Linked DNA regions of Homo sapiens: all the other regions are linked to region 5. The links are contacts of gene promoters, found by promoter capture Hi-C in blood cells and fetal thymus (Javierre and others, 2016). All regions are on one chromosome and are shown on one strand. The core of a region is centred on a gene start or on the middle of the fragment in contact, and the rest is flanking DNA. Distances in the headings are between cores, read along the strand shown.

Region 1 (3,611 bases), core at 17-2,516, 480 kb before region 5:
GCCTAGATGTCCATTATATGAAACAGCGTAGTATTTGCATACAACCATCACACATCCTCCCCTATATTGCAAATCATGTCTACAGCACTTAAAATAGCTAATACGATGTAAATGGTTGTTATACCGTAGTGTTTAGGGAGTGAAAAGAAAAAGTTGGTTGAATTCACAGGTGTGGACCCCAAAGATACAGAGAACTGACTGTATTCATCTCAATAACTGTCATTTACCAAGTGACACTATGTGTCAATTTGTTTTGTTTTTTTTGAGACTCGCTCTGTTGCCCAGGCAGGAGTGCAATGGTGCGATCTTGGCTCACTGCAACCTCTGCCTCCCGAGTTCAAGCAATTCTCCTGCGTCAGCCTCCCCAGTAGCTGGGATTACAGGCACCTGCCATCACGCCTGGCTAATTTTTGTATTGTTGTAGAGACGGGGTTTCACCATGTTGGCCAGGCTGGTCTTGAACTCCTGACCTCAGGTGATCCGCCCACCTCTGCCTCCACAAGTGTTGGGATTACAGGAGTGAGTCACCGCGCCCAGCCTGTGTCAATTTGATTTTATGTTACAAAACCTGTTTTAATTATCACAGCCAGCCCTCCCCAACAAAATGAAAAAGAGAGGATTTCATCTCAGTTTGCAAATCACTCAATCCTCATCTGAATGTTTTCTTAAGCCCAATCCTGCTCATTACTGATGAGGCCCTATCACGACTGCATGTGTGTCTGATAAAAGATGCCACTGCTGGCCGGGCGTGGTAGCTCACCCCTGTAATCCCAGCACTTTGGGAGGCCGAGGTGCTCCCAAACTCAAGTTTGAGGCCAGCCTGGCCAACATGGCGAAAGCCTGTCTCCACTAAAAATACAAAAATTAGCTGGGCATGGTGGGGCGTGCCTGTAGTCCCAGCTACTTGAGAGACTGAGGCAGGAGAATTGCTTGAACCCAGGAGGCAGAGGTTGCAGCAAGCCGAGATCACACCACTGCACTCCAGCTTGGGTGACAGAAAGAGACCCTTACTCAAAATACAACAACAACAACAAAAAAAGAGGCTGGGTGCGGTGGCTCACGCCTGTAATCCCAGCTCTTTGAGAGGCCGAGGTGGGCAGATCACGACATCAGGAGATTGAGACAATCCTGGCTAACAAGGTGAAACCCCGTCTCTACTAAAAATACAAAAAAAATTAGCGAGGCATGGTGGCGGGTGCCTGTAGTCCCAGCTAATCGGGAGGCTAAGGCAGGAGAATGGTGTGAACCTGGGAGGTGGAGCTTGCAGTGAGCCGAGGTCGTGCCACTGCACTCCAGCCTGGGTGAGAGTGAGACTCTGTCTCAAAAAATAAATAAATAAATAAATAAGATAAAAAATGCTATGAGGTTAGTGCTAATACGTCAATTTACAGATAAGGGAATCAGGGCTCACTACTATGGTTTGAGTCTGTTCCCTCAGAAACTAATGGTGAAATTTGATTCTCAATGTGGCAGTGTTGGGAGGTGGAGCATAGTAGGAGGTGTTCAGGGCTCAAGGGCAGATCCCGAGGCAATGAACTGTGGCGAGGGCCTGGATTCTAGCTCCGGCAGGACTCGACTGTGAGCAGAGGGTGGGCTGGTATGATAGGGAGTCTGGTTCCCTAGGCTCTCTGGCCTCCTCTCTCGCCATGTGGTCTCTATGCACACACCCACTCCCCTTCCACCTTCTGCCATGAGTGGAAGCAGCCTGAGGCCCTCACCAGATGCAGCTGTCCAATCTTGAACTTTCCAGCCATGAGAATCATGAACCAAATAAACCTCTTTTCTCCATGAATTACCCAGCCTCGGGTATTCTGTTATAGCAACACTAAATGGACGACACCACTCAATGAAACTGAATAAACGAGTCCAAGATTACCCAGGTAGTAAGTGGCAGAATCAGGAATCTAACCCAACTCTGACAGCATATCTTATGAGTTTATATACTTTTTCCATTTACAGAGCATTTTCACATGTACTATCTCATCTTTTTTTCTTCACTGCATGAAACAAAAAAGCAAAAAGCAATGATCCTATTTTACATATGATGAATTCAGTCTCCAGGTCCCATAGTAGCAAAAGGCCAAGATAGGACTCAAATCTAGGTCTTACATTCCTAAGTGTGATAATCAGCTAACTTCAAAATGTGTCCAAGGCACCAGGCATGGTGGCTCACGCCTGTAATCCCAGCACTTTGGGAGGCCGAGCGGGCAGATCACGAGGTCAGGAGATCGAGACCATCCTGGCTAACACAGTGAAACCCCATCTCTACTAAAAATACAAAAAAATTAGCTGGGCGTGGTGGCAGGCGCCTGTAGTCCCAGCTACTCAGGAGGCTAAGGCAGGAAAATCGCTTGAACCTGGGAGGCAGAGGTTGCAGTGAGCCAAGATCATGCCACTGTACTCCAGCCTGGGTGACAGAGTGAGACTGCCTGTCTTAAAAAAAAAAAAAAAGTGTCCAAGGTACTTTCTTCAATGTTAGTCAGTAGTGTGGCTAGGTGGCCTCAGACAGGCCAGTGAAATCGAGAAAATGACACTGGCTCTCCCCTTGTCAGGAGTTTCTACTGCCTACCCCAGCTACACAAAGCTTGTTAGGAACACTGATCCCAGAAATGTTCTGTCATTTCCTCACAGTCATAAAAATACCACTCATACTTGCAATTCTATCTCTAAGGAACCTAACTACCAGGCATACACAATTCTTGTTTTGATAACTATTACTTAGAAGAAGGGAGTATCTACCTCAGCATCCAATACAGAGATCTGGTCCTAGCTTTCATTCTGGGGGCCACCTCCCCGCAGAAGGAAAGCAGTGACCATAAACCAGACTTTTTTTTTTCTGAGATGCAGTCTTGCTCTGTCGCCATACTGGAGTCCAGTGAGTGGCGTGTTCTTGGCTCGCTACAACCTCCACCTCCTGGATTCAAGCAATTCTCCTGCCTCAGCCTCCTGGGTAGCTGGGACTACAGGCGTGCGCCACCACGCTCAGCTAATTTTTGTATTTTTAGTAGAGACAGGACTGGACTATGAGCAGAGGGTGGACTGGTATGATAGGGAGTCTAGCTCCCTAGGCCATGTTGGTAAGGATGGTCTCGATCTCTTGACCTTGTGATCCACCTGCCTCAGCCTCCCAAAGTGTTGGGATTACAGGCGTGAGCCACCGCACCTGGCCAAACTAGACTTTTAGAGTATATTTAGCCAGCCAACAAGGGAGAGCAAGAGAGCACTGCGAGAACAACAGGAACGGCTGCAAGTAGAATACACCACAGCTCTAGCCTTGTGTCTAAGAGTGCGTTTAAATGGTGAAAATACCATTTAAAAAAGGCCTGGTATAAAGGCCACTCTCCCAGGGAGAGAAGGTAGCTGTTAGCAGCAGGAATACTCCTTACATGTCTTCAGGCAGGTAGGACTCCTGGTCAATTTGGACATCAACATCGTTTTTGGTGGCAATTTTGTACATAGGAATTGCCTTCTGCACTGCAGCCTGGAAGTATAGAACACAATGAGAGGTGTCACTAGGAACTATGAAGCAAGTATCCAAAAACTCAACAGACTATACAAGCAAGGATACCTCCATTTATCCCAGGTAAAAGAACAGAGGCACCGCTGGTGGG
Region 2 (3,974 bases), core at 298-2,797, 430 kb before region 5:
AAAGGTAACTATATGTCCCTCTCATCATTTGAAAAGAATCTTGAAATATCTGTCTTTTTTTTTTTTTTTTTTTTTGAGATAGAGTCTAGCTCTGTCGCCTAGGCTGGAGTGCAGTTGTGCAATCTCAGCTCACTGCAGCCTCTGCCTCCCAGGTTCAAGTGATTCTCCTGCCTCAGCCTCCAGAGTAGATGGGATTACAGGTGCCTGCCACCACGCCCAGCTAATTTGTGTGTGTGTGTGTGTGTGTGTGTGTGTGTGTGTATAAACTACATATATATATATATATATATATATTTTTTTTTTTTTTTTTTTTTTTTCTTTTTCTTTTTGGGATGGAGTCTTGCTCTGTCACCCAGGCTGGAATGCAGTGGCACAATCTTGGCTAACTGCAAGCTCCGCCTCCCGGGTTCACACCATTCTCCTGTCTCAGCCTCCCAAGTAGCTGGGACTACAGGCACCTGCCACCACGCCTGGCTAATTTTTTTGTATTTCTAGTAGAGACGGGGTTTCACCGTGTTAGCCAGGCTGGTTTCGATCTCCTGACCTTGTGATCCGCTCGCCTTGGCCTCCCAAAGTTCTGGGGTTACAGGCATGAGCCACTGCACCTGGCCTAATTTTTGTATTTTTAGTGGAGACGGGGTTTCACTGTGTTGGCCAGACTGGTCTCGAACTCCTGACCTCGTGATCCGCCTGCCTTGGCCTCCCAAAGTGCTTCTACAAAAGCTTTAGGTGATGGTCCCGCGTCATAATTACCTTTCATCCAATCTAGCTTTTTTTTCCCCCCGTCCATTCTCAAAACTGACAAATTTGCTTCTTTCAGTACTCTGGATCTGTGATACTACAAAAACCACCTTGTTTTGCTACCGTATCCTTCCGTATTACTAGTGTTAGTGTTTTCACCTCTGCATTCCTCTCACCTAGTACATTACCTGGCATATAGTAAATATGTGTTGAATAAATACAGTTAAGGTCTAAGAGGAAGTGAAGACGGTGTACCCAATTAAGTGGTTGTGCTGTTACCTAGCTGTATGATTTTAGGCAAATAAATTGTTCTTGTTTCTCCATCTATAAAATTTTCATTCAAGTATAGAGGATTACTGTGACAACACATAGAAAAATGCTTTAGAAACAGATGTCACGAAGATGTAATTTATATATGATGTTTATTAGAAATGCCAAAGTCCCTCCGGGCGCAGTGGCTCACGCCTGTAATCCTAGCACTTTGGGAGGCCAAGGTGGGCGGATCGGGAGATAAGGAGATCGAGACCATCCTGGCTAACACGGTGAAACCCCCGTCTCTACTAAAAAATACAAAAAATTATCCGGGCTTGGTGGCACACCCCTGTAGTCCGAGCTGCTTGGGAGGCTGAGGTAGGAGAATCGCTTGAACCCAGGAGGCGAAGGTTGCAGTGAGCCGAGGTCATGCCACTGCACTCCTGGCGACAGAGACTCTGTCTCAAAAAAAAAAAAAGAAATGCAAAAGTTCATTGTGCAATATACTTATTAGACACTGCAGAATGTTGCAAAGGAAGTGGGTGTCCTCTCCCATTTTGTGCTTAGAGACATAACCCTGTAGTAGTGCTGTGGAGTTTACACTTGGCCTGTTATCAATACCTTTGTCCTATAATTTAATATAAATGTGCTAGTTACATAATAGTGTTCTTGGGATCTGACTTTTCCCCATTTAACCATAGTCCTGAAGGAGCTGCTGCATTGCTACACAACTGGAAGCTCAAGCTAAATTAGAAGTTGGGGCCAGATATGGTGGCTCACGCTTGTAATCCCAGCAATTTGGGACGCCAAGGTTGGAGGATCACTTGGGGCCTGGAGTTTGACACCAGCTGGGGCAACATAGTGAGACTCCATCGCTACAAAAAATTTAAAAATTAAAAAAAAAAGTTGCATGGCTGTTTTATACTGTAGGTCTGTTATGTTTATAACCAGAATAACAAATATGCATTTAAAGTCTGAAAACTGTATACTAGATTTAAATGAATAAATATAATCCTTCACCAAATATATAGATATATGGGCTTTAGCATATATACTAGAGTTAAAGGTGGAAGATGATGAAATTCATGATTAAGATTGCATTTATAATTACACAATCAGGTTTTATAAGAAAATTTGAGGAACATTAGGCTAAAAATCAAATTTGGAAACTTAGTGATTTGTAGTTTGTCTCTGGCTTTTGGGTTGGCAAACGACTTCAGTGATGTGGATTCTTGATAAATACAACAAATTTGAATACAACAAATTAGAGAATATCAATTTTTTTTTCTTTTAATTAGAGGCAGGGTGTTACCCTGTCGCTCAGGCTGGAGTGCAGTGGTATTATCACAGGCTCACTGCAGCCTCAATCTCCTGGGGTCAAGCTTGCTTCCTGCCTCAGCCCCCCACATTGTTGGGATTATGGGCATGAACTTGTGCCCGGCTCAATTTTTTTTTTTTTTGGGAGACGGAGTCTAGCTCTGTCACGCAGGCTGGAGTGCAGGTATGATTTCGGCTCACTGCAACTTCTGCCTCCCAGGCTCAATCAATTCTCTTGCCTCAGCCTCCGGAGTGGCTGGTATTATAGGCGCACGCCACCATGCCTGGCTAATTTTTGTATTTTAGTAGGGACGGGGTTTCACCAGGTTGCCCAGGCTGGTCTGGAACTCCTGACCTCAGGTGATCCGCCTGCCTCGGCCTCCCAAAGTGTTGGGATTACAGGCGTGAGCCATCACGCCGGGCCAATTTTTTAATTTAAAGCATTTATTCAAAATGTAAATACTTTCTTCTTCCTGCTACCAAAGAAATACTGAGACTTTTTTATTTTCTAGCAAAAGAGGGTTGTTGCTAAAGAGACTTTTTTTTTTGAGACGAAGTCTTGCTCTGTCGCCCAGGCTGTAGGGCAGTGGCACGATCTTGGCTCACTGCAACCTCTGCCTCCCGGGTTCAAGTGATTCTCCTGCCTCAGCCTCCTGAGTAGCTGGGATTACAGGCACCTGCCACCATGTCTGGCTAATTTTTGTATTTTTAGTAGAGACCGGGTTTCACCATGTTGGCCAGGCTGGTCTTAAACTCCTGACCTTAGGTGATGCACCCGCCTCGGCCTCCCAAAGTGCTGGGATTACAGGCGTGAGCCACTGTGCCTGGCCGCTGAAGAGACTTCCAAAAGCTTAGATTGTTATTAATTTTATCTATTCTCCCCTCTTTTTTTTCTTTTCTTTTTTTTTTTTTTTTTTGAGATGGAGCTTTGCTCTGTCGTCCAAGTTGGAGTGCAATGCGTAATCTTGGCCCACTGCAGCCTCCGCCTCCCTGCTCTGAGCGATTCTCCTGCCTCAGCCTCCTGAGTAGCTGGGATTACAGGCGCCTGCCATCATGCCCAGCTAATTTTCATAGTTTTGAAGAGATGGGGTTTCACCATGTTGGCCAGGCTGGTCTCGAACTCCTGACCTCAGGTGATCTGCCCGTCTCAGCCTCCCAAAGTGCTGGGATTACAGGCATGAGCCACTGCGCCCGGCTGACTCTTCTTATTTTCATTCTTCTTGACATGTTACTACGTTTGACACAGTTGTTCACTGCCTTCTTATTGAAGTGCCTCCCTGACTTCTGTGATTACAGTCTTTCCTGGTTTTCTTTCTACCTTTCTGTTTCAATCTGGACTGAAAGGGTTCCTCTTCCAGCTTCTCATCTTTTGACTACCCCTTAAATGTTAGTGGATTCTAATGTGTTCTTTTTAAGATTATACCAGTATTTTTGAACATGTTTTGTAGCCTATGTCTCCTTTATTAAAAATAAGGTAAATAAAAATTTCTGTGGCTCCTATTCTGGTGGCATTGGCGGTGGGAGGCACGTTATTTTTCCTTCTTGTCCCAGCACTGAGAATCACTGCTGCAAAGAAGACTGAAAATTTACTGAGCCTTACCTTCTATAGTCTGTAGTCTAAAAATAATAGGTGATTTTCCTTTTCCAAGTCTGAAAGTATATTG
Region 3 (3,918 bases), core at 459-2,958, 450 kb before region 5:
AGGTACAGGATCTTATCACTGCTTATCTGTCTTTTTTTGAGACAGGGTCTCTGTCTCCCAGGCTAGAGTGCAATGGCACAATCCCGCCTCATTTTGACCTCCGCCTTCTACAGCTCAAGCGATCCCCCCGTAGCTGGGACCATAGGTGCGTGTCACCACGTCCAGCTTAATTTTGTATTTTTTGTAGAGAGGGGTTTTGCCATGTTGCCCAGGCTGGTCTTGAACTACTGGGCTCAAGCGATCCTCCTGCCTTGGCTTCCCGAAGTGCTGGGATTTCAGGTGTGAGTCACCGTACTCAGCCCACTGCTTACCTTTCAAGCATCATATGAAACAACAAACCCTTCACTACTCACCATCTTCAGACTCTTAGTTCCTACCATACTAAACTTATTTCAGTTCCTTGAGCTCACCATTCTTTCTCATCTCCAAGATTTCAAACATGCTGTTCCTTCCATTTGGAACATTCTTCCTTCTAACTTTTTGGGCCTCAGCTTGTATAACTATCACCTCCTTAGGGAAATCTTTCCTGTACCTAGAGTACTTTGTACTTCCTCTATCACGGCACCTAAACTTGTAATTGTTGCTTATTTGTCCCTATCCTCAACTGAACTATGAGGCTAGGAACTTGTTAAAGGTTCCTAGATCACCGGCTACAATTGGAGAATAAAGTCCAATGAAGGCTTCCGAATGGGGCTTGGGGAATAATCCAACTTAGACTCATAAATGAAGTATCATCTCTTGTGGCAGATATAAAATATACCCAAGTAAAAATCCAACCGACACAGCTCATCAAACTCACTGGTTGTGGGATGCAATGGTAGCTTCATTTCCTAAGGGAGTGATGAAATCCAAAAAGGAAAAAAAAGCTAAAAATTGACGTAGGATCTTTAGGTCATTAATTCATTTTGTTTATTAATTATCCCACTAAAAGGTAAGCACCACTGAGTACAGGGATCTTGTCTTTTATGCCAGTGTGAACCCAGAACATGGAACAACCACCACCATAGGAGATGCTCAAAAAAATTTGTGAATGAATGCAAATCTGTTGGGAGTTTCAAGACTTCTAAGGAATACAAGGTATCCCAGGTACTTTTTAGGGTTTAACAATCTGTAAACAATCCCCATAGCAGCTTCTCCATATAACACAAGATATCATAAATCTTAAGTATACATAGGTGTACCAAAACGAATTAAGAAAGCACTACTGGGTGGGGAGCTAGGGGAGGGATAGCATTAGGAGAAATACCTAATGTAGATGATGGGTTGATGGGTGCAGCAAACCACCATGGCACGCGTATCACTATGTAACAAACCTGTGCACATTCTGCACATGTATCTCAGAACTTAAAGTATAATGAAACAAAAAAAAGAAAGAAAAGAAAACACTACTGCCTGGGTATGGTGGCTCATGCCTGTAATCCCAAGACCCTGGGAGGCCAAGGTGGGTAGATCTCCTGAGGTTGGGAGTTTGAGACCAGCCTGGCCAAGATGGAGAAACCCCATCTCTACTAAAAATACAAAAAATTAGCCAGGCGTGGTGGTGCATGCCTGTAATCCCAGTTACTCAGGAGGCTGAGGCAGGAGAATCACTTGAACCTGGAGGCGGAGGTTGTGGTAGGCATAGATTGTGCCACTGCACTCCAGCCTGGGCAAGAAGAGCGAAACTCCGTCTCAAAAAAAACAAAACAAAATGAAACAAAAAACATATAGGAGGATTTTAGAAGGGACAGTTTTTTTGTTTTATCAAAAATCTTGGAGCCACCCTACTTTTCTTTTTTTTCTTATTTTGGCAGGTGAGTTGTTACACACTCAGTGGATTCCAACTTCTGTGGCCACCATCGTGTTTCCAATCCTACTTTTAAGGAGACAAAAAGTTATGATGATCAAACCTATGTTATAGATAACATGGTACTTACAATATCTTGAGCCTTGAAATACTTGGGGTACCTAATCCAGACCTAGATGTGTGGGAAATCACTGACCTTGCTTAAAAGATCAGCTCCACAAATTTGGGAGTATGGAGAGGGGTCATGGTAATGGTGTCTACAAGTTTAGTTTGAAGTCTCACTGAACTTATTCTATCTGGAATTTTAAGTCATTTAACTAGCCGGGCTCACGCCTGTAATCCCAGCACTTTGGGAGGCCAATCCGGGTGGATCACGAGGTCAGGAGTTCAAGACCAGCCTGACCAACATGGTGAAACCTGGTCTCTACTAAAAATACAAAAATTAGCCAGGCGTGGTGGCGGGTGCCTGCAATCCTAGCTACTCAGGAGGCTGATGGAGGAGAATCACTTGAACCTGGGAGGTGGAGGTTGCAGCAAGCCAAGATCACGCCTGGGTGACAGAGCAAGACTCTGTCTCAAAAAAAAAAAAAAAGTCATTTAACTAAATACAGTAATCAAAACCGGTGTTTATAAATGCTACAAGTTTGGCCTCTAAAGGTGAACCCTGATTCGGACCTGGATTATCTGCCTTTAGCACTCTGCTGCACCCTTGGCTACCAGATTTGACCAGACCAGCACAGCCTAGAGCAAACTGCGCTAATTCTAACCCAGGTCAGAAGCCTATTTACAGTTAACATGATCATATTCTTTTAAGAGTTCCAAGAAGAGATATAGTCAACCCTTTAAGGACATTTAACTCCACCCCTAAGGCAGAAAATTTGACCTTTAAAAAAACAGTTTCTTCTTCCTGCTCAGTAATTAAGGTTTTTAGAGTCAGGTTTCTTTGTAAATTTGATGAAATAAATTACCATACTCCCCAGGAAAAAAGCAAATATACACAAATATTTTCATGCAATGGAGAAGTCAGAAAATTCAGGATTTATTAAGCATCTACTATGGGCTTGGTGCTTCATCTATTTACTTATGAGAATACAGTAAACAACACACACTGTCCTCATCGAGCTTTCATGTAGCATGAAGGATTATAGGAAATAGACAAGATTCCTTCTTTCAATTTTACATAAATAAAAAATAGGCCGGGTGCAGTGGCTGACACCTGTAATCCCAATACTTTGGGAGGCTGAGGCGGGCAGATCACGAGGTCAGGAGTTCGAGACCAGCCTGGCCAACATGGTGAAACCCCATCTCTACTAAAAATACAAAAATTAGCTGGGTGTGGTGGCGGGCACCAGTAATCCCAGGTACTCAGGAGGCTGATGCAGGAGGATCGCTTGAACCCGGGAGGCAGAGGCTGCAGTGAGCTGAGATCACGCCATGGCACTCCAGCCTGGGCAAGAGAGCGAGACTGTCTCAAAAAAAAGAAAAAATAACTCATGCGCAGTGGCTCACGCCTATAATCCCACCACTTCGGAGGTTCAAGACCAGCCTGGCCAACGTGGCGAATTCCCATGTGTACTAAAAATACAAAAAAATTATCCGGGTGTGGTGACATACGCCTGTAGTCCCAGCTACTGGAGAGGCTGAGACAGGAGAATCGCTTGAACCCAGGAGGCAGAGGTTGCAGCAAGCTGAGATCGCGCCACTGCACTCCAGCCTAGGCGACAAAGCAAGACTCCATCTCAAAAAAAAAAAATCATTTTGATCTAGATTCCAAGGAACTATAGCTTTATCTTTATACTAGCTTTTCCTATGGAAGCCTTAGTCTTCAATATATTATGACAAGGAGGGAAGAAAGGGAACAAGAGGGAGAGAATTAGCACTGTGGCCACTAAGAGTATATGGAGGGCATTTTACTTTTCCACTGCATCAAGCTTTTCCTATATTGAAAGAAGCAGAAGAAGCAGTGAACAGAAGAAGCAGTGAAAAAGGTTTAAAAAAACCCTTTGGTTCTGTAAGAATATTGTATGATTTCTTAAACTTCTCCATAGATACTAATTTTGTCATCTCTATTTACCCTTTGGCATTAGCAGAACCACAAAATGAAGAAGAAATACCCACTCGTCTTAGTGCAT
Region 4 (3,818 bases), core at 908-3,407, 350 kb before region 5:
TATGTTTTTAGTAGAGACGGGGTTTCACCGTGTTAGCCAGGATGGTCTCGATCTCCTGACCTCGTGATCTGCCCTGCTCGGCCTCCCAAAGTGCTGGGATTACAGGCATGAGCCACCGCGCCCGGCCAAGAAATTTTTATGATGCACACTTTTCTTGTTACCTTGCCCCTTAGAAATAACTCATAATGGTTTGGTGTACGTTTTTCTAAACATGTGTTTTGCTTATATAAACATTTTATTATGTATAAATATATGCAAATAAGTAGATATGTATATATGTGCATTTAGTAAATAGGATCATACCATCCATTTTCCCACAGAGTTATCTTTGCCACAAATCATGTGACCTTATATATCTAGTTCTGGATTCTATTTTATTTAATTGGTCTAATTGCCTCTGTTTTTTTTGGAATTGAGACAAGATCTTGCTCTGTCATCCAGGCTGGACTACAGTGGCACGATCATAGCTCAGTGCAGACTCAAACTCCTGGGCTCAAGGGATCATCCCATTTCAGCCTCCTGAGTTGAGTAGATGAGACTACAGGGGTGTGTGTGTGTGTGTGTGTGTGTGTGTGTGTGTGTGTGTGTATGTAGAGATGATGTCTTACTATGTTGCTCAAGCTTGTCTTGAACTCCTGGCCTCAAATGATCCTCCTGCCTCAGCTTCCCAAAGTGCTGGGATTACAGGTATGAACCACTGTGCCCAGCCAGGTCTAATTGCCTATTTTTAAGCTCTTACCATGCTTATACAATCAGTGTGCCTTTGTAATGGGTTGAGTAGATACCTGGTAGTGTCAGCTCTCAAACTGTTGTTTTTCAAGATCAGCTTAAATTCCTTGGCCTTTTTAAATTGCTATATAGATTTTAGAATTAATTAGTTGTCAATTTCCATAAGAAAAAACCTGGTAGGATTTTATATTGGAGATTGTATTGAACCAAAGGGTTAATCTGGGAATAGCTGACATCTTTACAATAGTTTTCCAATCTATGAGCATGATATATATATCCCTTTAGGATATCTTTAATTTCTTTCAATAATACTTTGTAGTTTTTTATGTAGAGTTATTGTACAATATGGGCTTCCTTCCACATTGGACTTAAAAATGTACTTCTTTTTTAATAGTAGTTAAATAGTTTGGATGAACCATATATATTTTTAAACTTTCCTGAGGGTATTGAAGACTGTTTGAAATCCTTCTGTATTAAAAATGATGCTAATGAAAATCCTTGCAAAATGTGTAAGCTTGAGACCTGATTACAGCTTCCGGTTAGGATCTCCATGTCTTTGCTTACTTAGCTGAACCAAACCCTCCCTGTGTCTCTCTCTATCTGTCCCTCTCCCTCTCTCCCTCTCTCTTTCTCCCTCTCCTGAATGCATCCTCTTCTGGACCATTCCAGTGGTCCTTACCCTGAGGCTGGGGCAAGCTGTCATCCTCAAAAGCTGGGAGGCCTAGAAGCCCTCTCTTCCAAGCCAATGGGCCCTCCAATTTTCCTAATTGTATACTGCAGTACTGTAATTTTTAAAGACAGATTTTACTTTACAGTTTTGTGTTATCTCTGCTTAGAAGAGATGGAGGAGGAAGGAAAAGTTTGTAAATTACCTTCTTTAGCCAAGGGAGGGTATTGTTTCCATTTGTTTTCACTTCCTTATTGTCCCATCCAGTTGGTATTTTAGAATAGCTCTTTGTCCTACCACCATACCACCAAAAACAACAATTAAAATGACAACACAAACAATAGCAAGTTATGAAATAGCATAACTTACTGATTACTTCCTATGTACAAAGTACTAATCTAAGCACTATAAATACTATACCTCGGGCCGGGCGCGGTGTCTCACGCCTGTAATCCCAGCACTTTGGGAGGCCGAGGTAGGTGGATCACGAGGTCAAGAGATTGAGACCATCCTGGCCAACATGGTGAAACCCCGTCTCTACTAAAAATACAAGTATTAGCTGGGCATGGTGGCGTGCACCTGTAGTTCCAGCTACTCGGGAGGCTGAGGCAGGAGAATCACTTGAACCTGGGAGACGGAGGTTGCAGTGAGCCAAGATTGCACCACTGCACTCCAGCCTGATGACAGAGTGAGACTCCGTCTCAAAAAAAAAACAAAAAAAAACAAAAAACAAACTATACCTCATTTTAAAAATGAACTCAAGTCCAGGTGTGGTGGCTCACACCTATAATCTCAGCACTTTGGGACACTGAGGTGGGAGAATTGCTTGAAGCCAGGAGTTTGAGACCAGCCTGGGCAACATAGAGAGACCCGTCTCTACAAAAAATAAAAAAACTTAGCTGAGTGCAGTGGCCCATGCTGTTATTCCCAGCTACTCAGGAGGCTGAGGCTAGAGGATCCCTTGGGACCAGAAGGTTGAGGCTGCAGTGAGCTGTGATCCTGCCACTGCACTTCAGCCTGTGTGACAGAGCGAGACCCCAACTCTAAAAATACAACAAAAACAATCTTATCTAGTCAGTCATCCCCATTTTATTTGTGAAGAAATTGAAGTCTAAAAGTTTAAGCAAGGTATCCAGATTCGCACAGCTGGTACACAGTTGGAGCTGGGATACAAGCCAGTTGTTTTTGACTGTGAATTTTGTGGTCATACTGTATTATTTTAACCCCCTGATTATTCCATACTCATAGAACATCCTTGATGCTTACCAGGGCCTCTGAAGTGGCTGGAGCAAGGGTCGAGGTAGAAAGTGGTGCAGTATGATGCCGACATCATGGTCGTGTGATTTATTTGTATTTCTTATTTCCTTTTTTATGGGGCTGATAGACTTTTGATTTATGTTAGATCCTTGATGTATGTAGAAAGTTTTTGGTTTTGGTTGAAGAATGAAATTATCCTACTTCAGTTGAATAGCAACCATAATCATAAAATGAAGTAGAAATTAATTTGCTTTACATATTCCATTCAGATTCCCTGTAGCTTTTACGAGTGTTGTCTAGCCTTTGTATGACAATTTCTGTACATCTCTGTGACATTCCATTCCATTGGTTCTCTTCCTGTCCTTTTATTGCGCCTTACCCTCTGGGTTGGCCTAGCCCCTTGTGCATACACCTGTCATAAAGCTTTCTGTATCATATTGAAGTTAGTTATTCATATGTCAGGCTTCACAGCTGCCTAGTAAATTCTGTAAGAATAGACCCATTCTTTCTCGTAGCCCTTGTGCCTGACACAACCCTGATAAGCAGTAGGCACACGGTGGCCTGTTATTAATAGACATGGACACAAGGCCTGTGCTGTAGGGCTTTATTGCTTTCACTCAGACTTCCTGACAAAAGAAGCAAGAGTCTCCGTGTCTGCAGCATTTCTCCATTCTGTCTCTGCCATCAGAGGAATTTTAAAGCAAAGCTCTGATTATAATTTTGTACCTCAGAGATGTCAGTGACAAACCATCGCCTGTTGGATAAAGTCCATATTTCTTAGCTGTCATTCAGGTTCCTCCATGGTCCTGTCCTCACTGACCTTCTATTCTTCATGGGCACTCTGCATTAATTAAACAGGGCTCTGTCCTTATCTTCTTTTTTTTCTGTCTCTGTGCTTTTGCCTGCATTGTGTCTTCTGTGTACCCTTCGCCTGCCAAAATCTTACCCATTCTTCAGATGTCTGATAGAAATGCTAGTCCCTCCGTGAGGCTTTCTGTGATCTCCCTGCTTTCTCTGACCTCTACCCAAAGAGGTCTTTTTCCCATCTGAACTTTTTTTCTTCTTCTTCTAAGGAAAGCAACACTGCCATATGAACTCTTAATGGCACTTGGACTATGACATAGCATTATTTGTATACCCTACTAAGTGATAAATTCCTTGAGCA
Region 5 (4,030 bases), core at 1-2,500:
AACAGATCCACAAATCACACTTATTATTATATTCTGTTTCACCCGGGCTTTGCCAAGCTTCCCACATTTGTACTAGATCCTCTTGGCTTTAGTTTCTCCCCAGTTCTCTACCCTTTGAATTCACTCCAAAGCTTCCCTAGAATCTTTGCTCTCCTAGAAATTAGATTAAACAGGCACCTGCTCACATCATACATCCCCTGCCCTTGTCACCAGACATGCACACATCCATCTTCTGGGATTTCCGTTCTCTTGCAGAAAAGTCTGCATGGGAAGCTGAGGCAGAACCAAGTCCACCAGACTCCGAGGAAAGAGAAGTCTGGACCCTGTAACCAGATAAAAGTGAAACCAGGACTTCATTTATTCCACAAATACTTTTTGACTACCTATAGATGACAGGCACTGTTCAAGGCATTGAGGTTCCCACAGTGAACAAAAGAGACAAAAACGTCTGCCTTTGTGAGTTTATATCATAGTGGAAGGAAATAGACAATAAAAATAAGTAAAATATAGACATTGGTATGTAGATGGTGATAAATGATAAGGAGAAATATAAAGACAGATCGGAAGTGACAACAGTGGGGAAGTGGAATTGGTATCTGCATTTAACGTTGTTTTTTAACAGCAAATTCAGGATGGGGCAGAGAGCAGTGAGAAAAATGAGGCCCTTATGCTCAGCGCCCCCAACCCCGCCTCGGTGGGGTCACTATTCATTTTGGAACATTGCCCTTGGGACCAACATATTCTCAGTGGTCCTTGTGAAGGTTTCCACCCTAAGTCCCTCATCCTCACCAGGCAATATTCATTACCCTACAGCAAACTCCGGAGGCAACGCGGAGAAAGTGTGAATCAATTCAAGACTAAGGTTGCCAAAATGTTTGATCAGCTCTGCGTCAGCCTTGACATTACATTACATTACAGATCCCCTGATCGCCACCGTCGCAGAAGCTCTGAATTAAAAGCGTGCATGTAGCTGCACATCCATTGCTGGCACTTCTTCCGTTAGCCTCCGCTGGAACTGGTTAGTGAGGACCCCTCCATTTCACAAGACAGCTTCGGTTTTGCTTCGTTTTGACTTCCGCACCCCGAAGCTGTAGCACCAGTTTGTTTTCTCACGGCACAGGGGCGGCTTCCGGGGCGCGGCGTGCTGGGGGTTGTAGTCCGCGCTCTGCCTCCTACTTCCATTACAGAAGGCGATGGGCCGAGAGCTGAGGAACTACAACTCCTAGAGTACTCCGCGCCGCCGGGACGCCGCGCGGCTGCGGGGCTGGGCGAGCGCAAAGATGTCCGCGCCCGCTGCCGGGAGGCGAGGTGAGTCTTTGATCGTAACCAGGAGCCCGGAGCTGAGGCAGTTCCTGCACGTGTCGCGGGGCCGGAGAAGCTAGGGCCAGGTATTCCAGGGATGCAAGAATCCTGCAAATCTGACGTGTAAACTGCTTCCCCAGCCTCCAGGCGAGCCCAGCTTTTGCCTCAGATAGGCCCCTTCCTTTTCCTTCTCGGGGAATCGACCTCGGGAAGGGGTGTGGGCAAAGAGATGAGGACTCTCCCTCTTCGCCCAGGCCAACTCGGGATATCCCGGAGCCTCTGGGGAGGCGGTCACTCCGACGTCTGAGGACCTGGGCCTTGGACCCGGACTCGTTATGAAGAGCGATTCTTCGACCTCTGCAGCCCCCCTCAGGGGGCTCGGGGGACCCCTGCGCAGCAGCGAGCCGGTGCGCGCGGTCCCGGCCCGGGCGCCGGCCGTGGACCTTCTGGAGGAGGCGGCCGACCTCCTGGTGGTGCACCTGGACTTCCGGGCGGCGCTGGAGACCTGCGAGCGGGCCTGGCAGAGTCTGGCCAACCACGCCGTGGCAGAGGAACCCGCGGGCACGTACGTGCTGGGCTCGGAAATGAACCGATTTCCGGGCGCTCTTGTGGTGGGGCTCAAGGTCTCAGGAGTTCTGTCCTTCCCAGATTGCCCACAAGGAGCTTTACACCTCGCTTTCATCAGTGGTTTGTCTCCGAGAGGGTGGTCGCTCATCGTGTGCCCATTCTACAGAGAAGGGAAGTCGTGTAACAAAAACTTAGTGGGGATCCCACAGCCAATTATTTGCTCCTTGTTCCAAGGTACAATGACATGATGGGAAGGCTGAATGTGTATTAAGTGCTAAGTTCTGTCAGTAAGCAGGTGGTAAAAGTCCTCTCCCAGGTACCTCCGCCCTCCCCGCCCCGCCCAAGGTTGTTTATTCCTGACCTTGGCTGATGATGGGGAATGGGGGTCATGGCAGGAGCAGCGTTCTGGTCCAATTAGAGGACTGGATTAAAGAATTAATTCAGGGCCGGGAGCTGGGGCTTACGCCTGTAATCCCAGCACTTTGGGAGGCCGAGGCAGGAGGATTGCTTGAGCCCAGGAGTTCGAGACCAGCCTGGGTAACATAATGAGCCCTCTTCTCTACCAAAAAGAAGAAAAAGAAAAGAATCCGGAGAAAAAAACCTTGGGCTTGCATTGCTCTTTCTAATGCCACCAGCCTCGTCTGGCAGGTGAGGGAGTCATTTCTTTGCATTGTAAACTTGGGTTAGGCCACGCTAGGGAGGTGGTAGGTAGAATAGCTAAAGTTGACCACAAAGAAGGATGATCTGGAGAGCCCTGGCTGTGTTTTAGGGGACTGGGTGGGAGCTCATTTCAGTGAATGCAGAAGGCTTTGCTTCTGGGTGTCTGGAGGAACCTTACTAGGTGGTGCCTTTTAGCCAGCTATGGAGTCTATACCTCCACTCAGCCAGAAACCTTGCTCCAAGCCCATTTGTTCACAGAGCAAACTCTTAGTTCCAGCTCTCTTTTCAGCCACACACCGGTGCTGTGTGTTATTTCCCCCTCAGGATTACCCTTCCTCTTCATTTAAATCTGATTTCACCTGGATACAAAGATGAACGTTGAGCAACAGCTGACTTGCCTCTTGAAAGAGGGTTACAGGAACTTTTAGTTCCTGGGGGAAAGGGCAGCCCATGAGACCAATTGTGAAGCCCATCTAAATACTAACAGGGATGAGAGAGATGATGGCTGCTGAGTTGGGAGCTGGAGAGGAACAGTCCCAAGGTGGAGGTGGGAATGGAAATGGAGGGGAACCACTTCTAACTGAAATTGGTTTTTCTGCTGACAGCTCATTGGAGGTGAAGTGCTCCCTGTGTGTTGTGGGGATCCAGGCCCTGGCAGAAATGGATCGGTGGCAAGAAGTCCTCTCCTGGGTCCTTCAGTATTACCAGGTCCCTGAAAAGCTACCCCCCAAAGTCCTGGAGCTGTGGTAAGTCTTCTTTGCTGACTCATCAGATCGGTTCAGAAACGAGAGGATTTTCATCTCCTCTCCTAAATACCTACTCTTTTCCCCTTCCCTACTATTGCCCTCCAGATCGGATTCTTTCCCTTCACTTTTTTTTCCCCAGACTTCCATACATAGCAATAAAGAATAAGGGGGAGGAATTTAGGAGTAGAATAGATATAAAGAAGGGAGGAAACAGGGAATAGGAGCGACGTGGGATGACAGAGTGGACAGAGCTGAAAGAGCAGCTTGCTACGTCCTAGGAATTCCTAATTCTTAAAAAAAAATTTTGTTTTGTTTTGTTTTGTTTTGTTTTTTGAGACGGAGTCTCGCCCTGTCGCCCAGGTTGGAGTGCAGTGGCACAGTCTCTGCTCACTGCAAGCTCCACCTCCCGGGTTCACACCATTCTCCTGCCTCAGCCTCCCGAGTAGCTGGGACTACAGGCGCCTGCCACCACGCCCGGCTAATTTTTTTGTGTTTTAAGTAGAGACAGGGTTTTACCGTGTTAGCCAGGATGGTCTCAATCTCCTGACCTCGTGATCCACCTGCCTCGGCATCCCAAAGTGCTGGGATTACAGATGTGAGCCATCGCCCCTGGCCAAAAAATAACAAAGTTTTTAAAATTGACACTTGTACATATTTATGGGGTAAATTAGACATTTCAATATATGCTGTGTATATGTTGTATAATGATCAAATCAGGGTAGTTAGCATATCCATCACCTCATGCATTTATCATT
Region 6 (3,757 bases), core at 201-2,700, 370 kb before region 5:
TGGACATATAGATTTGAAGGAGAAAAATAATATTTTGTTTTCTGAATTATTAACAGAAATGGCTAGGACTTAGAAACAGGGTCTTGCTTTGTTGCCCTGGCTGGAGTACAGTGGCATGATCATGGCTCATTTGCAGCCTCAACTTCCTGGGCTCAAGTGATCCTCCCACCTCAGCCTCCCTAGTAGCTGGGACCACAGGTGTGCATGCACTACCACACTTGGCTTATTTTTTGCAGAGAGAGGTTTCACTATGTTGCCCAAGCTGGTCTCAAACTCCTGGCCTCAAGCAATCCTCCCCGCTTGGCCTCCCAAAGTGCTGGGATTACAGGCATGCGCCACCTTGCCCAGCCTGTTTTCTCTTTCTACCTTGTTTTTTTTTTTTTTTCACTCTGCCTTTTTACCCGGCGAATGATGAACTGAGAAAAGGATTAGAAATCACAAGATTTGTTTCTTGCCCCAGCTCTGCCAAATACTAGCCCTGTGTTTTGGAAGGATTCATTTAACTTCTCTGAACCTCAGTTTCAACTACAAAAAGGGAAGAATAGCTTCTCTGTCTCACAAAAATAATGATGTGAAAGTGTTTTGTGAAAATGTCACACTTTTACAAATGCCAGGTTTTCACATGCGTCTCTGAAGAGTGTGGTTTTTTTCCCTCTCCTTAAGTCTGATCACCATTTCCTCTTAGTTTCAGTTTTGACTTTTATTTGCCCTGCAGCCCGGTGAGGGCACAGACTGGTTCATGTGCTGTGATTCTCCCTGAGTCATCCTTGCTCCCTCCCTCCTCATTCTCTTTTCATTTCCTGGGCTTGTGTTGCTACGTTAGAAGTCTGTCTGTCTCCTGGAAAGGGCAGAGCAAGTCCACTGTGGTAAGGCTTGTATTTTACTTTCTCCGTCGTCACATGATAAATACTTCTTGTGAAAGATTTACTTTTAGATTCCATAAAAGATTACTGGAGGGAATGTCATCTGTCTATTGTAATATTTAAGTATTTTGAATAAAATTAATCTTTGTCATTTTCTCTTGACATGAAGCTTCTGATTTTAGAATAGGTTTTTGTTTGTTTAATCTAGGATATTTAAAGACTATCTCTTGGAAGCTTTTAGGTTAATAATTTGTTAGAATAGTTTTCATATTGTGGGAGGTGACACACAGGGATGATCTGAAATTAATGAAGTGGGTTGCAGCTAAAATCAATTTAGTAAGAGTAAGTACTGTTTTGGGAAAATCTGCCTGCTGTATATGTGGGTGTGGATGTTTACTGTGTTGTACTCTGAAATGTGTTTTTTGTGGATCTTCCTCATCAAGTTGGGTGGAAAATTACTTCTCTGTAATTTCTTCAGCACTCTCCATTTTCTTATTTTAGGTTAATAATGATCTGAGAGGCGCATTTGGTTATAAGGGTCCAAAGCAGTGATCTGTTTCCATTTTGCGACTTCGAGGCCTCAGAAATATAAAACTAGCTGGTTGATCCCGGCTAGTTTTATATTTTTGAGCCCTCAAAGTTACAAAATGTCAGTGGAGCCTTTGTGTGTTTTGTGTCAGTGGAGCCAAAGAGATGGATACTCCCAACAATACAAATATTTTATATGAAGAATGATTTAGATTGTCAGAATCGTTCTAAGACTACTTGTAGATGTTATTCTAATGTAAGTTGTAACTAACGTATTATCCAAAACAGCTCTTTTTCTTGACAGATATATATATAAAGTCTGAGAAGTAATGATAGAGGTTTGTTGGCATAAATCTTAAGGGAAATGAGTCCTTAGAAAATTTACCAACGTAGATGGGCTTTGGAATTTTGCCAAAGCTTCTTCAGATGGAAAAGTTAAGTTCATAGGAGCTCAGCTCAGCAGCAGCTGTGTCTCAGAAGGTAAAATATTGCTTGAGGGGGCAGAATAATTTGTAACTGATGTGACCCCCTGCCCCCACCAAAAAAAAAGTGAAACAAAAAAATACAATCAATATAGACATCATGATGCAGCCAATTTTTGTAATAGGTCTCTGAGCAATTGTCAACCTGATTTTTACTTAGGTCTACCACCAAAGTAAAGTTATGTTTGTATTTTATTTTACATTTATTTTGATACGTTCCTTTACTTAGTTTTTTACTTAGTTCCTACCACCAAAGCAAAGTTATATTTGTATTTTATTTTACATTTATTTTGTTATATTCCTTTTATCTACTTAGGTTTCTTCTCTACTTCCCTTTTTAATTGAAGAGTTTAATGCATGTATCTGTGTGTTTGCTTGAAAAAAAACACCAAGTATAACATGTTCTATCTATGAATACTTCTGGCCATTAACTCAAAAGGTACTATATTACAGACAGAAAAGCACCAGAAAGCAATCAGGGACTTCATCTAAGAGGTAGGACAGCATAGTTGGTAAAAATACAGACCCTGGAGGCAAACTGCCTGGGCTTGAATCCCAGCTTTATTACTTTGGGAAAACTACTTATCTTCTTTACTTGTTTTGGTATCCATGTCTGTGAAATGGAAGTAATAATAATCCTCTCATAGCATTGTTGTGAGGTTTCAATAGATGAAGTGAAGACTTTAGAAGGGCACATGATAAGAATTATATAAGGGTTACCTATTATTGCTATCCAATTTGTCATAGCAAGCTAAGGGACCTTGGGCAAGTTACTCAAACCCTTTGGCTTCATTTATTTAAAAACAAAAACAAAAAAGACGCAGTTCTCTGCTTCTTTGTGCATATTTAAACTCATGGTTTATCCCATGAGTTTTATATTTTTGAGCCCTCGAAATTACTCCTTTGCATTTTATGTCAGTGAAGCCAAAGAGACAGATACTCTCAACAACACAAATATTTTGTATTAAAAACTATTTAGATTGTTAGAATGGTTCCGAGGCTACTTGTAGATATTATTCTTCTAATATGATAAGTTGTAAGTAATATATTATCCAAAACAGCTCTTTTTCTTTTAGTGAAAGCCTGCTCTTCATTATGACATTAATTATTAAGAGAGGCTCGGCCGAGCATGGTGGCTAACGCCTGTAATACCAGCACTTTGGGAGGCCGAGGTGGGTGACTCACAAGGTCAGGAGATCGAGACCATCCTGACTAACACGGTGAAACCCCGTCTCTACTAAAAAATACAAAAAATTAGCTGGGCGTGGTGGCAGGCACCTGTAGTCCCAGCTACTCGGGAGGCTGAGGCAGGAGAATGGCGTGAACCCAGGAGGCAGAGGTTGCAGTGAGCCAAGACTGCGCCACTGCACTCCAGCCTGGGCGACAGAGTGAGACTCCATCTCAAAAACAAAACAAAACAAAAAAAAGAGGCTCCAGCCCGGTGACATGGCAAAACCCTGTCTCAAAAATATAAAACTGAGGCTGGACGTGGTGGCTCACGCCTGTAATCCCAACACTTTGGGAGGCCAAGGTGGGCAGATCACCTGAAGTCCGGAGTTCGAGACCAGCCTGGCCAACGTGGTGAAACCCCATCTCTATGAAAAATACAAAAATTAGCCAGGCATGGTCGTGCATGCCTGTAGTCCCAGCAACTCGGGAGGCTGAGGCAGGAGAATTGCTTGAACCCAGGAGGCGGAGGTTGCAGTGAACCAGGATTGTGCCTCTGCGCTCCAACCTGGGTGAACAGAGAGAGACTCTGTCTCAGGAAAGATAAATAAATAAATGAAATAAAAAATAGAAAGATTAGCCAGGCATGGTGGTGGGTTCCTGTAATCCCAACTACTCAGGTGGCTGAGGCAGGAGAATCTCTTGAACCCAGGTTGC
Region 7 (3,804 bases), core at 1,148-3,647, 400 kb before region 5:
ACTCCTGTAATCCCAGCACTTTGGGAGACCAGGGTGGGCAAATCATGAGGTCTACAATTCAAACCTTGTAGAAAAATGGATCCAATAGGTTATATTATCTGCAAGAAGTCTAAAACGTGTAGGTGTTCTGAGTTTCTGATTAAGGGGAGGTCAAGAGTAGAATGATAGATATTAAGTTAGAAATGTTTTTGTGGAATAGAGGGCTAACTTTTTTCAGCCTGGTTGTTATTTCTGTTTCTGTCATTGAAGTATGTTTGAAGGAGTGTTAGTAGCTACAAGAAGGATTGATTTCTCTTAAAAGCACGTTCATTCACTGTAGCTTATGACAGTGATTGATCAAAATTCTTACATTGTTGAGTATGACAGAGATTACCTTAGCCTGGAAAAAAATTGAAGGCAAGTCCATTAGAGGCAAGCCACCCTTGGAAACAGGTTGCAGAACATCTGGTATTCAGGAATACAGCTTTTTAGTAAAACTTCCCCAATCAATTTGTTGTGCAATGTCCAACAAATTTAAGCAACACATATTAAGCCATTCTCTCTAGCAGCAATTGAAGAGCAAGAATAACTGCCTGTCAAGATTTCTCCTAGTTTGTGTTAAAACAGCCTTATTTTATATTACATGGCATTATCTAAACTGACAGAGGTTGTCCTGCTATTCCTACCTTTCACAGTGTGGAAAGCAGGTTCTGTATAAGCATCTTTGATTAAAAATCTGTGATGAGCTAATTTCTGTTCACAGAGATAAGGGGCCAGGAAAGATAATTATCTAATAATACAATTTTAGAGCATGAAAAGAATTGGTGAGTGGGAGCACCTGTCGATTGGGCATTTATCTCATTACTCTTCACAACTACCCTTTGTGGTGGGTATTATTTTCCCATTTTATATAAGAGGAGAGACGGTGGCTCACGCCTGTAATCCCAGCACTTCGGGAGGCTGAGGCAGGCGGATCACTTCAGGTCAGGAGTTCGAGACCAGCCTGGCCAACATGGCAGAACCCTATCTCTACTAAAAACAAAAAAAAATAGGCAGGTGTGGTGGCACACGCCTGTACTCCCAGCTACTTGGGAGGCTGAGGTGGGAGAATTGCTTGAACCCAGGAGGTGGAGGTTGCAGTGAGCCGAGACTGCACCACTGCACTCCAGCCTGGGTGACAGAGCGAGACTCTGTCTCAATTAAAAAAATAATCATAAAGAGGAGAGGGTCAAGAAGATTATTTTCCTTGCCCAAGTGAAGAGTTAGAAGGCCTGACTCCAAAGCTTATCAACCACTTTACGGCTGTTTTCCAGGAAGCTGGAAGGGAAAGAGAGAATTTTATTGCAAGAAATAGCATGGGCCGTGAATTAATTTCTGAGCTTGTGTTTGATTTCACTTAATAATGTCATGATGTATTCTGGAGATCACTGTATCTTGTGCAGTTATATTAATCAGTGCTGTTGCAGAGCCATCTAACACTACAAATTACTTCTAAAGGGAAAACCTGTTATAATTATAAACAGTAATGGAGATTTAGTAGAAGCTTATCTGTAAAGGTAGACTTTTATGCTTTATGAGAATTTATAAAGATTAGGATAAATTGGCATAGGATCTTTCTAGGATAAATTGGCCTCAAATTTTTGCATAATAGATTGTTTTATGTAACATTTTCAAGTTTTTATGAATGTAGTTTATCAAAGTTATTTACTTAGGCAGAAGTAAGTGAAATGTCATTAAGCAAAGTATATGCTATTGGTGACATTGAGGAGATCCTTTGTGTTACATTTCAACTTTTAAGGATTCTGGCACTTAGGGAGGCAGAGGCAGGAGGATGGCTTGAGCCCAGGAGTTTGAGACCTGCCTAGGCAATATAGTGAGACCCTATTCTCAAAAAATAAAAAAATAAAAAAATAAAAGGATTTGAATTTTATTTTGGTTAGTCTCATCTCATAAGGAAAGTGTTTTATGTCGCTTAAAGCCATGTTATTTTTGTCAGCTTTAAAAGTAGAAAATGAATCAGAATCTGTGATACGTAAAAATGTTTAACCTTTTGTTTTTTAAAGGTATTTTAAATACCTGTGGATGATAGAATAATCAAGTTTCTTGACCTTAATAGAATTAATTAATTCAAAGCCCATCTGAGAATTTGGGATTCTTTAATTTGGTTGCAAAAAATGAAAACATAGGCAGAGCCTGGTGGCTCATGCCTGTAATCCCAGCGTGAGGGAGGCCAAGGTGGGCGGCCTGCTTGAGCCCAGGAATTTGAGACCAGCCTGGCCAACAAGGCAAAACTTTGTCTCTACCAAAAAAAAGAAAAACCCCACACAGCTGGGCGCGGTGGCTCACACCTGTAATCCCAGCACTTTGGGAGTCTGAGGCAGGTGGATCATGAGGTCAGGAGATCGAGACCATCCTGGCCAACATGGTGAAACCCTGTCTCTACCAAAAATACAAAAATTAGCTGGGTGTGGTGGTGTGCACCTGTAGTTCTAGCTACTCAGGAGGCTGAGGCAGGAGAATCACTTGAACCCAGGAGGCAGAGGTTGCAGTGAGGCGAGATCGCGCCATTGCATGATCTGGCGACAGAGCGAGACTCTGTCTCAAAAAAAAAACAAAAAAACCCCACAAAAATTAGCTGGGCATGGTGGTGTGTACCTGTAGTGCCAGCTACTTGAGAGGCTGAGGTGGGAAGATCGCTTGAGCCTAAGAGGTTGAGGCTCTTGTGAGCCATGATAGTGCCACTGCACTCCAGCCTGGGCAACAGGGTGAGACCCTGTCTAGAAACATAAAATATATAGAAGTGCTGAAGTGCAGTGGTGCAGTCATGGCTCACAGCAGCCTCGACCTCCCAGGCTCAAGTGATCTTCACACATCAGGCTCCCGAGTATCTTGGACGATGGGAACATGCCACTGTGCTCAGCTAGTTTTTTTTATTTTTCGTAGAAACAAGGTCTAGCTATGTTGCGCAGGCTGTTCTTGAACTCCTAAACTTAAACAATCCTTCTGCCTCGGCCTCCCAAAGTGCTGAGATTACAGGCATGAGCACCACACCCAACTGAAGTGAAGATTAAATAAGGGGACATGAAAGTCCCTGTCAGAAGACAGTATCACCGATATAGACAGCCTTTCTGCTCTCTGTTAACTATTTAATCATGTCAGAAATGTTTCTGAGATCTTTCATTCCTAGCCACCCAACCAGAAGATGACGAGAGCACAGCCTGGATTAACGATTTTGTAGTCAGACTCACCAGAGTTCCAATTATAACTTCTTTATGGTAGTGGTAGAACCTATCCAAGCTTCAGTTTCCTCATCTTCAAATGGAACTATTATTTCATCCCTCATAAGGTTGACTTGGAAATTAAATGAAATAACACATAGGAAATGTTTACTACCGTGCCTGTTAAGTAACAGGTACTTTGTAAATGCTTGCTGTTGTCCTGCCCTTCCTGAACTTCCCCAGTCTATATAAATAGTTTCATGTGCTGGACAAATCTTACTCATTTTTGTGCTGCGTAGATGCTTCAGGACATACCTGATAAATAGCAGGTAGTCAATGTTTCTTCAGTGGATAAATGAATAGTAGGTAGACCTGCAACTTAGTGGCCCAGTTCATGCTGCTTTTTGTTAGCTTGTTTGGTTTTTCTGCTGAAATTCTTGCATGGTGGAGTATAGTTGATTGCAGGGCCCTTCCCCCACACCCAGGTAGGGGCTTCATTGTCCCCACAAGTTACTTATCTCAAGTCTTTAGGGAAATGAAAAACCACTCTCCTCTAACAGAAGGTTAGTTGCTAAGTATACAATTCAGCATCCTCTGGGTGTTCAGG

Evidence for each region. Contacts are between HindIII fragments. The CHiCAGO score rates a contact against its expected background, and 5 or more counts as called.
Region 1: a contact is called between a fragment that was not itself captured here and the fragment with the promoter of PEX26 in region 5, in 1 of 17 cell types (total B cells). The highest score is 6.6, in total B cells.
Region 2: a contact is called between a fragment that was not itself captured here and the fragment with the promoter of PEX26 in region 5, in 1 of 17 cell types (erythroblasts). The highest score is 5.2, in erythroblasts.
Region 3: a contact is called between a fragment that was not itself captured here and the fragment with the promoter of PEX26 in region 5, in 2 of 17 cell types (fetal thymus and total CD8 T cells). The highest score is 6.5, in fetal thymus.
Region 4: a fragment that was not itself captured here is called in contact with the fragment with the promoter of PEX26 in region 5 in 6 of 17 cell types (megakaryocytes, total CD8 T cells, non-activated CD4 T cells and 3 more); the score reaches 7.2 in megakaryocytes.
Region 6: a contact is called between a fragment that was not itself captured here and the fragment with the promoter of PEX26 in region 5, in 7 of 17 cell types (erythroblasts, total B cells, megakaryocytes and 4 more). The highest score is 6.7, in erythroblasts.
Region 7: a fragment that was not itself captured here is called in contact with the fragment with the promoter of PEX26 in region 5 in 2 of 17 cell types (erythroblasts and megakaryocytes); the score reaches 5.8 in erythroblasts.

The regions. Positions count from the first base shown.
Region 1 is chr22:17,594,808-17,598,418 of GRCh38, forward strand. It overlaps ATP6V1E1 (ATPase H+ transporting V1 subunit E1), which reads right to left. Exons shown (of 9, transcript NM_001696.4): 7 at 3,387-3,481. Among named protein-coding and RNA genes, the nearest start is that of ATP6V1E1, 32 kb to the right of the region's middle. The HindIII fragment of the contact is 2,631 bases long and covers 1-2,582 here.
Region 2 is chr22:17,646,663-17,650,636 of GRCh38, forward strand. All of the region lies in intron 1 of BCL2L13 (BCL2 like 13), which reads left to right. Among named protein-coding and RNA genes, the nearest start is that of BCL2L13, 9.9 kb to the left of the region's middle. The HindIII fragment of the contact is 1,652 bases long and covers 722-2,373 here.
Region 3 is chr22:17,621,294-17,625,211 of GRCh38, forward strand. All of the region lies in intron 1 of ATP6V1E1 (ATPase H+ transporting V1 subunit E1), which reads right to left. Among named protein-coding and RNA genes, the nearest start is that of ATP6V1E1, 5.5 kb to the right of the region's middle. The HindIII fragment of the contact is 4,013 bases long and covers 1-3,715 here.
Region 4 is chr22:17,721,833-17,725,650 of GRCh38, forward strand. The region is part of intron 6 of BCL2L13 (BCL2 like 13); the gene reads left to right. Among named protein-coding and RNA genes, the nearest start is that of MIR3198-1, 41 kb to the right of the region's middle. The HindIII fragment of the contact is 1,833 bases long and covers 1,242-3,074 here.
Region 5 is chr22:18,076,740-18,080,769 of GRCh38, forward strand. It overlaps PEX26 (peroxisomal biogenesis factor 26), which reads left to right and starts at 1,251. Exons shown (of 5, transcript NM_001127649.3): 1 at 1,251-1,867; 2 at 3,135-3,275. The coding sequence starts at 1,638. LOC105372853 (a long non-coding RNA gene) reads left to right here. Exons shown (of 6, transcript XR_001755424.2): 6 at 919-1,157. RefSeq lists enhancers at 925-984, 1,315-1,544, 2,025-2,074 and a silencer at 1,615-1,664. The HindIII fragment of the contact is 13,258 bases long and covers 130-4,030 here.
Region 6 is chr22:17,705,960-17,709,716 of GRCh38, forward strand. The region is part of intron 6 of BCL2L13 (BCL2 like 13); the gene reads left to right. Among named protein-coding and RNA genes, the nearest start is that of MIR3198-1, 56 kb to the right of the region's middle. RefSeq lists enhancers at 354-403, 424-473. The HindIII fragment of the contact is 711 bases long and covers 1,096-1,806 here.
Region 7 is chr22:17,675,287-17,679,090 of GRCh38, forward strand. All of the region lies in intron 2 of BCL2L13 (BCL2 like 13), which reads left to right. Among named protein-coding and RNA genes, the nearest start is that of BCL2L13, 38 kb to the left of the region's middle. The HindIII fragment of the contact is 1,754 bases long and covers 1,521-3,274 here.